3 separate regions of the Homo sapiens genome follow, and regions 1 and 3 are each linked to region 2. The links are contacts of gene promoters, found by promoter capture Hi-C in blood cells and fetal thymus (Javierre and others, 2016). All regions are on one chromosome and are shown on one strand. Each heading gives the region's core, a stretch centred on a gene start or on the middle of the fragment in contact. The rest is flanking DNA. Distances are from core to core; before and after follow the strand shown.

Region 1 (3,070 bases), core at 516-3,015, 410 kb before region 2:
GGACTTGGAAGGTCTAGAAAATGTTATCTATACTATGATTACACTCAAACATATAAAAAACTTGAAAACATTTTATAGTGACCATTCAAACACTCACCATTTAGATTCTACAATTAACATTTTGCTAGATTTGCTTTATCACATGGTTACCCATTGTTAACTTATAGTGACCATTCAAACACTCACCATTTAGATTCTACAATTAACATTTTGCTAGATTTGCTTTATCACATGGTTACCCATTGTTAACAATTTTTTAGAAACCTAAACATCATTAAGGATGTTTCTGAAAAAGCACCAAGAAATGCCCAAAGCGAGAGAAGGGCACTATAGAGTCATCACAACTCAAATACAAATCTTAACTACTCTTGAAAAATCCTAATATTTTTCTATGAGAAATATATACACACTACATAAAAACAAAGACTATGATCTGAGTAATCAATGCTAGGGATAAAAAAATAGAGAAATCATGCCAAACAGACAATTCCTACAAGTAAGTAAATTAAATTTGAGACTAGAGACATATAAGACTGTGATAGCTTGATTTCCATAAACTGTCTCCAATAGTATAATTACTCATGACTGGCTCTTTGGAAAACATTAAAGCAGAATCTTCAGGAAGCCATCGTTGTACAATGTACCCCAGGTATTCAACACTGGCCTGGCACAGGGCATGAGTTGGGAAATCCCAGGGGATGGTGAGCCTCAGGAGGGCATGCAGCAATGGAGTCTCTCACCATCTGGAAGACCACCCTGTTCTGCTCTCTTTCACAGGTGCGGAAGACAACTCGATCATCAGGGGCGACAAAGTCCACTGTGCTGAGCACCTCTGCAAGAAAACCCAAACACATAGGGTCACTCAATGAAGATGCAAGTTCAACGCTAGCCTAAGCCCTGGAAGAAAACACAGCCAGAGTATAAGCTTCAAGGGGAAAGAGATCCTAAATGTATACCATTCTTACCAAAAATAACTATGCACATGGGAGGCTTCTGTGATGATGAGGATGGTCTATTTCCTGACCTGGGTGATGGTTGTTCATTTTGCAATTACTTGTGAAACTGCATGTTTGTGTTTAATGCACTTTTTCTGAATGGTGGTTAACATTTTGCAACGTTTAAAATGTTAAAACCGGGCCGGGTATGGTGGCTTACGCCTGTAATCCCAGCACCTTGGGAGGCCGAGGCGGGCGGATCATGAGGTCAAGAGTTCAAGACCAGCCTGGCCAACATGGTGAAACACCGTCTCTGATAAGAATACAAAAATTAGCCAGGCGTGGTGGGGTATGCCTGTAACCCTAGCTACTCGAGAGGCTGAGGCAGGAGAATCGCTTGAATCTGGGAGGCGGAGGTTGCAGCGAGCCGAGATCGCGCCATTGCACTCCAGCCTGGGCGACAGAGCAAGACTCCGTCTCGAAAAAAAAAAAAATGTTGAAACAAAATGTACATACATAGCCGGGCGCAGTGGCTCACGCTTGTAATCCTAGGACTTTGGAAGGCCAAGGCAGGTGGATCATGTGAGGTTAGGAGTTTGAAACCAGCCTACACAACATGGCAAAACCGCATCTCTACTAAAAATACAAAAATTAGCTGGGCGTGGTGGAGGGTGCCTGTAATACCAGCTACTCAAGAGGCTGAGGCAGCACAATCTCTTGAACCTGGGAGGCAGAGATTGCAGTGAGCTGAGATCGCGCCACTGCACTCCAGCCTGGGCAACAGAGGGAGGCTCTGTCTCAAAAAAAAAAAAAAAGTCCATACATGGAAGTTTGTCTATGTTTCAGATTTGGCCCAAATTTTCCCAGAAAACATCACTCTGAAGTTCAGCAAATTTACTATTTACTTACAGTGAGACAGGTGCTATGAGTGGAAGGTTACTATATAACAATCAATCTCCTATACTATTCATAGTTGCATATTTGCAAATGTGCCTATTTGCTAACATTTATTTGTGACCCCAAAATCAATACTTGTGATGTTTTCATGGTCATCCAAGGACAGGAACAGAGTGGTGAAAGTTTTGAGTTGCCTGATGTGCATGTTCCCAGCTGAGGTCAAACAAGGTGATGCTCTGTCTTCTCCCTTCAGCTCTCATACTGTCAACAAGTGTCCCTTTTGTGGTATATTTCATGCCACATTTCTGCATGTCTATGCTTTTTGTTGGTGATCTCACTGTTTAAAATGGTCCCAAGTGGCTGGGTGCGGTGGCTCACACCTGTAATCCCAGCACTTTGGGAGGCCGAGGCGGGTGGGTTACCTGAGGTTAGGGAGTTCGAGACCACCCTGGGCAACATGGTGAAACTCAAGTCTCTACTAAAATACAAAAAAAAAAATTAGCTGGGTGTGGTGGCACACACCTGTAGTCCCCACTACTTGGAAGGCTGAGGCACAAGAATCTCTTGAGCCGGGAAGGCGGAGGTTGCAGTGAGCCAAGATCACGCCACTGCACTCTAGCTTGGGCTACAGAGTAAGATTCCATCTCAAAAAATATAAAATAAATAAAATAAAATGGTCCCAACCATACTGCTGAAATGCTATCTAATGTTCCTAAGCACAAGAAAACGGTCATGGGACTTACAGAGAAAATACACATCTTGAATAAGCTTTGTTTCGGCATGAAATTATAGCACTATTACCCATGTTAGTGGGTTCAATGTTAAGTGAATCAATGGTATATATTAAATAATATGCCTTTAAACAGAAACACATGGCCAGTGTGATGGCTAAGTCCTGTAATCCCAGTATTTTGGGAGGCTGAGGCAGGGGGATCACTTGAGGCCAGGAGTTTGAGACCAGCTGGGGAACATAGCAAGACCCCCATCTCTACAAAAAATTTAAAAATTGGCTGGGCATGGAGGTGTGCACCTGAAATCCCAGCTACTTGGAAGGCTGAGGCAGGATGATCATTTGAGCCCAGGAGTTTGAGGCTGCAGCGAGCTATGGTCACACCAGTACACTCCAGCCTGAGCAACAGAGTGAGACCTGGTCACAAAAAAGAAACCAAACAAAAACAAAGAAACACACATAAAACAAAGTTATGGACTGACAAGTTGATGAAAATATGACCAGAGGC
Region 2 (3,334 bases), core at 182-2,681:
CTGGGGAGGCAGAGGTGGGGCAGGCTGGAAGGCCTGTGGCTCTGCCTTCACCCTTACCACAGGGGCTGCAGGGGTCAGTGGACTCCGAGGGGCTGCTTCTCTCCAGCCGAGCCAGCATGGAGGCTGGTGTGGGCCTCCGGAATAGCTTCCTGGTAGGGGGTTAAGGAGAAGGGGGCAAAGGACTTCCAGCCTCTGGGATGGGAAGCAGCCCTTCTCATGCACTCCCTCCTCCCCTGCCAGCCCCTCGAATTTGCCAGGCCTCACCCAAGGGTCGAGCGAGGGAAGACCTTCTTGATGGCTGCAGCCACGTGCTGGGCCAGCTGTTCCAGGGCGGCCACACCAGGAAACTCCAGGACCAGCTCACGCAGGGACTCCAGCTCAAAGGTGACCTAGGGAAGGGGCACTACTAGGCCTCGGCTCCACACATGGGCGCAGGTGATGGTGGTAGCATGAAGACCAGGCTGCAGGCCCAGGTAGGGTACTAGGTGTCTCACCTGAGGGGGTGTCTCCTGCAGCGCCATGGCCTGGACCTCCAGGTAGCTGAACGTGCAGTCCACCTAGAAAGGGCCTAGATCAGCTGGGACCAAGCCCCCAGCCCCGCCCTCATGGAAGTCCAGTCCTTTGGGCAGCCTGGGGCAGAGCCAGATCTGCCTGGACTCCCCTCCTGTCGGCTGCCCAGAGCCCAGTGCTGGTGCAAAGTCAGGGCCCACAAGGCCAAGAAGGACCACTCTGCAGATGCAGCCCCCTGCCAAGGTAGCTGCTGGCGGGCGGGGGTGTGGCCAGGCCCTGGGACTCACCCTCAGCGGGAGGCAGGTGGTGTGCAGCAGGTAGGCTCTCCATCGTAGCAGTGCCTGGGGAAAGACAGTCTGATATCCTGGGCAGAGCAAGAGGCTCTTTCTGTGGGGCCACAGCCGCCTCCCCGGCTCTGTCCCCTGCCCCATACCAGGACATGGTTTTGCACAGCACCCTCCCCGGGTAGCCAGGTTTTCAGCAGCAGCTCCACCTCTTTGGGCCACAGGAACCTGGTGATCTCGCCTGTGGAAGGGCAGCCTGCTGGGTGACTTCAGTCCTTGCACAGAAGCCACTGGTGCCCACAGTCTGTGCCAGGCTGGGGCCCTGGGGCTTATCTGCGGCCAGCGAGGAAGGAGGGGAGAGGATCTGGGGCGCCTGCCCTCCTGGGGAGCAGGGAGGACCTCTGACCAGGCCCTCTGGGGCGCTGGGTGGGCCTCTGATTTTGGGGCTGCACTACTTCCTCCCGGCCAAGAAGGCAGGAAGGGCCAGCGCTTACCTCGGAGCTCACAGGAGATGCCGTCGGGGGTCTGGGCCATGGGCCGGGCGGGCCGGGGAGGCCCAACGAGCTCCGGCGGGAAACAGCAGAGGACGAGCGCGCACACAGGAAGCCTGGGGCCCAGACCCGCACGGCAGCCACCTGCTCCTCCGGCGGCGGAAGGTGCGCGCCGCTTCCTGCCAGGCCGCCCCCGGCCCGGCCCCTCCCCGCCCCGGCCTCGCGGCTCGAGAGCTTGCCCGGGAGCGGGGTTGTGGGAGGGGGGCCGAGTCCCACCTGCCCGCCCGCCCCGTCGCCCAGGAGCTTCTCCGCCAGGGTAGACGTCGGGGTGGGCAGTGGCGTGGCCGGGAGGGTCGCGGGTGTGGCGGGCCTCCAGCGGGTCCTTGCCCCCGGCTTCCACCCCGCCCCGCAGTCCCTGCCGCGAACACCAGGGGACGCTGCCTGCCTGGGGATCCCCGCGGCCCACCGGGGCTGGTCCCCTCCAAAGCCCAGGCTGCGGAGGTGGACGAGGCGCCTGGCAGAAGGGGGACTGTTCAGCAAGGAGCGCCCGAATTCTGCCAACACCGGAGGTCCTGCCCGTTGCTCCGAACCTGGAGTCCGTGACCCTGTTAGGGATCCAAGAGATTTTGAATGGGTGGGAAAAAATGTCAGATGGGGCCAGGCGCGGTGGCTCACGCCTGTAATCCCAGCACTTTGGAAGGCCGAGGAAGGAGGAACGCTTGAGCCAAAGAGTTCGAGACCAAGCTGGGCAACATAGGGAGACCCTGTCTCTGCAAAATAATTTACAAAATTAGACGGCGTGATGGCGTGTGTCTGTAATCCTAGCTACTTGGGAGGCTGAGGTGGGAGGATCACTTGAGCTTGGGAGGCAGAGTTTGCAGTGAGCGGAGATCGCACCACTGTACTCCAGCCTGGGTGACAAAGCCAGGTCCTGTCTAAAAAAAAAAAAAAAAAACAGCCTGATGGGTCCAGACGCCCTTCCTTGCCGCAGAGGTGGGGTCAGGGCCGAAGGTGAGGGTGTACCCGGAGCCTTCGGGGGGAAGCCTGGGGCTAAGGTGAGCCCTGAACCCCAAGCACTTCATAGAGGGCCGGAGTGAGTCGTCCAGGTACATGAGGGTCTTCTTGTGTCTGCCTTCTCCCCAGGCTGGAGAGAGTTTGGGAGGGGGCAGCCAGAGAGAGAGAAATAAGCCAGTGTCTCCAGGGCTGAGAGGGGTCAGACAGTCATAGGGTGGGGCCTGGTAGCCTGTTGCCCTCTCAAAGACCAGGACCTAGATTCTGGAAAGTTCACAGGAAGAGACTGCATTTTTTTTCTTCTATTACAATCTAAACTCCACTTAAGCGGTAAGGAACAGCAGTCTACCCTGCCCATAGCTCAGCAAGGTGGAGGTGAAATGACAGCTAAGGGTGACAAGGAGGAGTCAGCTGCAGAAGATGCAGCACAGAGAGTTCCTGCTGCCTCCCCGATTGAAGAGACATACTTGGTTTGTTTGTTGGTTTTGAGATAGAGTCTTGCTCTGTGGTCCAGGCTGGAGTGCAGTGGCACAATCTTGGCTCACTGCAGCCTCCGCCTCCCAGGTTCCAGCAATTCTCCTGCCTCAGTCTCCCGAGTAGCTGGGATTACAGGTGCCCACCACCATGCCTGGGCTAATTATTATTATTATTATTATCATTATTATTATTATTATTTTAGACAGAGCTTCGCTCTTGTTGCCCAGGCTGGAGTGCAGTAGGGCGATCTTGGTTCACTGCAGCCTCCGCCTCCCAGGTTCCAGCAATTCTCCTGCCTCAGTCTCCCGAGTAGCTGGGATTACAGGTGCCCACCACCATGCCTGGGCTAATTATTATTATTATTATTATCATTATTATTATTATTATTTTAGACAGAGCTTCGCTCTTGTTGCCCAGGCTGGAGTGCAGTAGGGCGATCTTGGTTCACTGCAACCTCTGCCTCCTGGGTTCAAGCAATTCTTCTGCCTCAGCCTCCCAAGTAGCTGGGATTACAGGCATGTGCCACCACACCCAGGGAATTTTTATGTTTTTAGTAGAGAC
Region 3 (3,260 bases), core at 761-3,260, 280 kb before region 2:
GGTAGCAGCAGTGGGGCTCCCTTTAACCACCCCCAGTTGGGAAGGAGGCACCTGGGGAATGGAATGGACATCCAACGGGGAGAGGGAGGTAGCGGTGGGCTCTACAAAGAAGGCACCAAGGGCGGTGGGCTGAGACCCCTCAGAATCTGGAGAGGCTGGAGCCTGGGCAAGCCGATGACCAGCATGGCCACACAGTCCAGAAGGGTGAAGGTCCACGCCATGGCCCTCCACCAGAGGTCCTGGGACCAGGAAGGCTCCCTGGAGGCACCATGAAGGAAGACAGATCTTGGCTGGGAGGTGGAGGGCTGTTTCGACCTAGCCAGGGGCTACGGGTCCAGTCAAGGCACAAGCTTTGTGCCTACCAGGGTCTCCCACTGGAGCATAATCTTAAGGATCAGGATGCATGGGAATGTGTGAAACCAGGGAGAAGGGCTCTGTGGAGGAAAGGGGGTCCCAGAAGTAACTGTCCCAAAGGGTCCTGAGGCCACAGGACACTCCACCCAGCACTGCAGTTCCCTTTGATTGGGGAAAAGTCAAAGGGCAAGGGAGACAGTGAAGGCCAGGTCCTATCCCTTCCCAACTCCACCAGAGCAGCTGCCCACCAAGAGGGGTATCAGTGCCAGGCCAGGCTCCCAGTTCAGGGGGAGTCACAGCCCCCTGTGCTACCTCTACTCTGTCACACCTGGCCCAGGCCCATGGTGAGGACAGGGGCTGCTGAAGGCACAGAGAAAGGGCTGGAGCCAGACATTCTTCACCTACTGTGGGCCACATAGGCCTATCTCCAGAGAGGGCATCGGACCCAGATGGCACCACAGTGTGTGGCCAGGCTGGGTCGTGCTGCATGTGTGCACAGCCAGGCGGCTCAGCCATTGTATTGCTGCTGGTAGCGCAGGTTGAGCTCCCGCAGCTCCCGTTCCCGCACACGGCGTGACTTATTGGAGCGTGTGGAGCGGCTGGAACGCGTGGACTGGGCAGATTTGGTGCTCTGGCAGCGCGAGGAGGCACGTTTAAGGAGGTTCTGGGATATGGAGCGGTGCAGGTTCTTCATGGATGAAGAGGCAGCCATGCTCACCACCCACGGGTGCCTCAGGGCCTGCAGTGCAGTCATACGGGCTCCAGGGTCCACTGTCAGCAGGCGGTCAATGAAGTCCTTGGCCAGGTTGGACACACTAGGCCAGGGCTAGAGACCAAGGACAAGCATTAGAGTGAGAGCATCTGACACTGCCCACCCCATCTGGATGAGGCCACTACTCAGCAACCCTCCCCTTTCCAGAGAGAGGTGCTGCCCCTCCTCTCATGTAGCACTTGGGGCCTCCCCGCCCAACGCTGGCTCAGGCTGAACAAGGGCTGCTCTCCAGGTGATGGAGTCTGGCAAGGAAGGAAAGGACCTGTGCACTCTCCCAGGGAGCAAATTCTATGGTGCACTGGACCCAAAGCCTGGCTCAGGGAGATGGCCTCTGCCAAGACCCCCCCGAACTTGTCCCAGGAGTATCATAACTCAGGGGACTGTTAGAGAATGATTCAAACTTTCCCACCACATCCTAAGTCAGATTGAAGCTCCAATCTCTGGATGACCAGGATCAGGCTACTTAAAGGGGAACTTCCTAGTCCTTACAGAGAAGATCCAACCTCTCTCCAACTGCCGAAGCAGTGGCAGAAGACCACTGCTCCCTGCCTCTGCCTCCCGGCATGGGGAGGAAAGGAAACAATTCAAGGCAACTAGATTTCCCAGTCGGCTGAGGGCAGGCGATCCCGGGACCAGGAAGGAACCAGGACCCTTCTCAGTGGCACCCTCTGGCCCGCATTACTTCTCTAAGCCACAAAGGGCTCCTGGCAGTGCTGTGCGCCAGCCTCATTTTAGTACATTCTGTCCCCTGGGAGGAACTCCATAAAGCCCACTCTGCCACATGCACCCCGGGCTGCCTCATCTCAGCCCCGAACCCAGCAGCTGTCTGTCTCAGGGCCTCAGGTTGTACGGCTGTCTTCACCTGACTGGATCCTCAGGTTCTCAGGGTAAAGGACACTTGCTCAGACTCCCTCTTAGCCCCCAGTGCTTCCAGCAATTATTCCAGCTGTAACGTGAGACTGCAATTTCATGTTCGTTTAGTATTCCCATGAGATCATGCTGAGCTGGATGAGCCCGTGCCTGGTGCTGCGCATACAGGAAGCACTCAGTAGGCACAGGCTCAGACAGTAAACAACCCACGGTGCTGCCGGATGGGTGCCCTTTCCTGGAGCTGCTTCCAGGCCTTGGGGCTCAGCCAGGTGAGTCCTTGCGTCCCTGCATCTCCTAGGAACACTTCTGGCACGGGCTCTGAGGCTCCCCCAAGGATAGGCAGCTAGGACCTTTCCTGAGCCTGCTGCAGATGACTCAACAGGGATGCTAACGATCCCCTCACTTTCCTTCCTGCCAGGTGAGGTCTGCCTGTTCCACCCATGGTACCCTTCACCACCCATGGTACCCTTCACCTTGAGGAACCCCTGAACATGCCCTCCAGGGGGTTCAGGAGGATCTGAGAGACCACCTTCAGGGCAGGTGCACAGCCATCTAGCAGACACACACACTCACTGACTACTGCTACTCCCAGTCTGGCTCGCCTGACCTCCAACTCTTTCCCTACCCCCTTCCCCACTGCCACAGAGGGATGAGGCAGGGAGAACACGCTTCCACCGTCCTGAGGAAGGCCTGGGGCTACCTGCAGCTGCTGTCTTCACCCACTCTTTGGAAGGTTATTCCAAGTTTTACTGAGCTGAAGTGGGAGCAACAGGGGAACCATATTCCCAAACACACCTAACAGGGTCATCCTCATCAGTGGGCCAGCAGCACCCAGTGACTCCTGGGGAGATGCTGGCCCCCAGGAGGAGGAAAGTCAGGGTCCAGGAGCATGCAGCCAACGAAGGCCCATAGATGCCTTACTATCCAAGGGCTGTGGGTGGGCGCAGAGAGCAACAGCCCTCCCCGACAGGCAGGTAAGTCTCCTGGGGGCTTGTGTAGTTCAAGATTCATATTGAGGGCCAGGCGTGGTGGCTCATGCCTGTAATCCCAGCACTTTGGGAGGCTGAGGCAGGTGGATCACAAGGTCATGAGATCAAGACCATCCTGGCCAACATGGTGAAACCCCGTCTCTACTAAAAATACAAAAATTAGTCGGGCGTGGTGGCGTGCCTGTAGTCCCAGCTACTCAGGAAGCTGAGGCAGGAGAATTGCTTGAACCTGAGAGGCGGAGGTTGCAGTGAGCCAAGATCGCACCACTGCACTC

What was found. The method cuts DNA at HindIII sites, captures the fragments that hold promoters and counts their contacts. A CHiCAGO score of 5 or more calls a contact.
Region 1: a contact is called between a fragment that was not itself captured here and the fragment with the promoter of CARMIL2 in region 2, in 1 of 17 cell types (naive B cells). The highest score is 5.5, in naive B cells.
Region 3: a contact is called between a fragment that was not itself captured here and the fragment with the promoter of CARMIL2 in region 2, in 3 of 17 cell types (endothelial precursors, monocytes and fetal thymus). The highest score is 5.9, in endothelial precursors.

The regions. Positions count from the first base shown.
Region 1 is chr16:68,051,326-68,054,395 of GRCh38, reverse strand. It overlaps DUS2 (dihydrouridine synthase 2), which reads right to left. Exons shown (of 17, transcript NM_017803.5): 5 at 741-832. Among named protein-coding and RNA genes, the nearest start is that of DUS2, 30 kb to the right of the region's middle. The HindIII fragment of the contact is 1,675 bases long and covers 928-2,602 here.
Region 2 is chr16:67,643,241-67,646,574 of GRCh38, reverse strand. CARMIL2 (capping protein regulator and myosin 1 linker 2) reads right to left here and starts at 1,431. Exons shown (of 38, transcript NM_001013838.3): 1 at 1,289-1,431; 2 at 944-1,035; 3 at 798-851; 4 at 495-557; 5 at 265-389; 6 at 58-149. The coding sequence starts at 1,328. RefSeq lists a silencer at 1,348-1,737. The HindIII fragment of the contact is 10,344 bases long and covers 1-3,334 here.
Region 3 is chr16:67,925,245-67,928,504 of GRCh38, reverse strand. It overlaps PSKH1 (protein serine kinase H1), which reads right to left. Exons shown (of 3, transcript NM_006742.3): 3 at 1-1,180. The coding sequence ends at 863. Among named protein-coding and RNA genes, the nearest start is that of CTRL, 5.0 kb to the left of the region's middle. RefSeq lists an enhancer at 1,032-1,533. The HindIII fragment of the contact is 3,315 bases long and covers 353-3,260 here.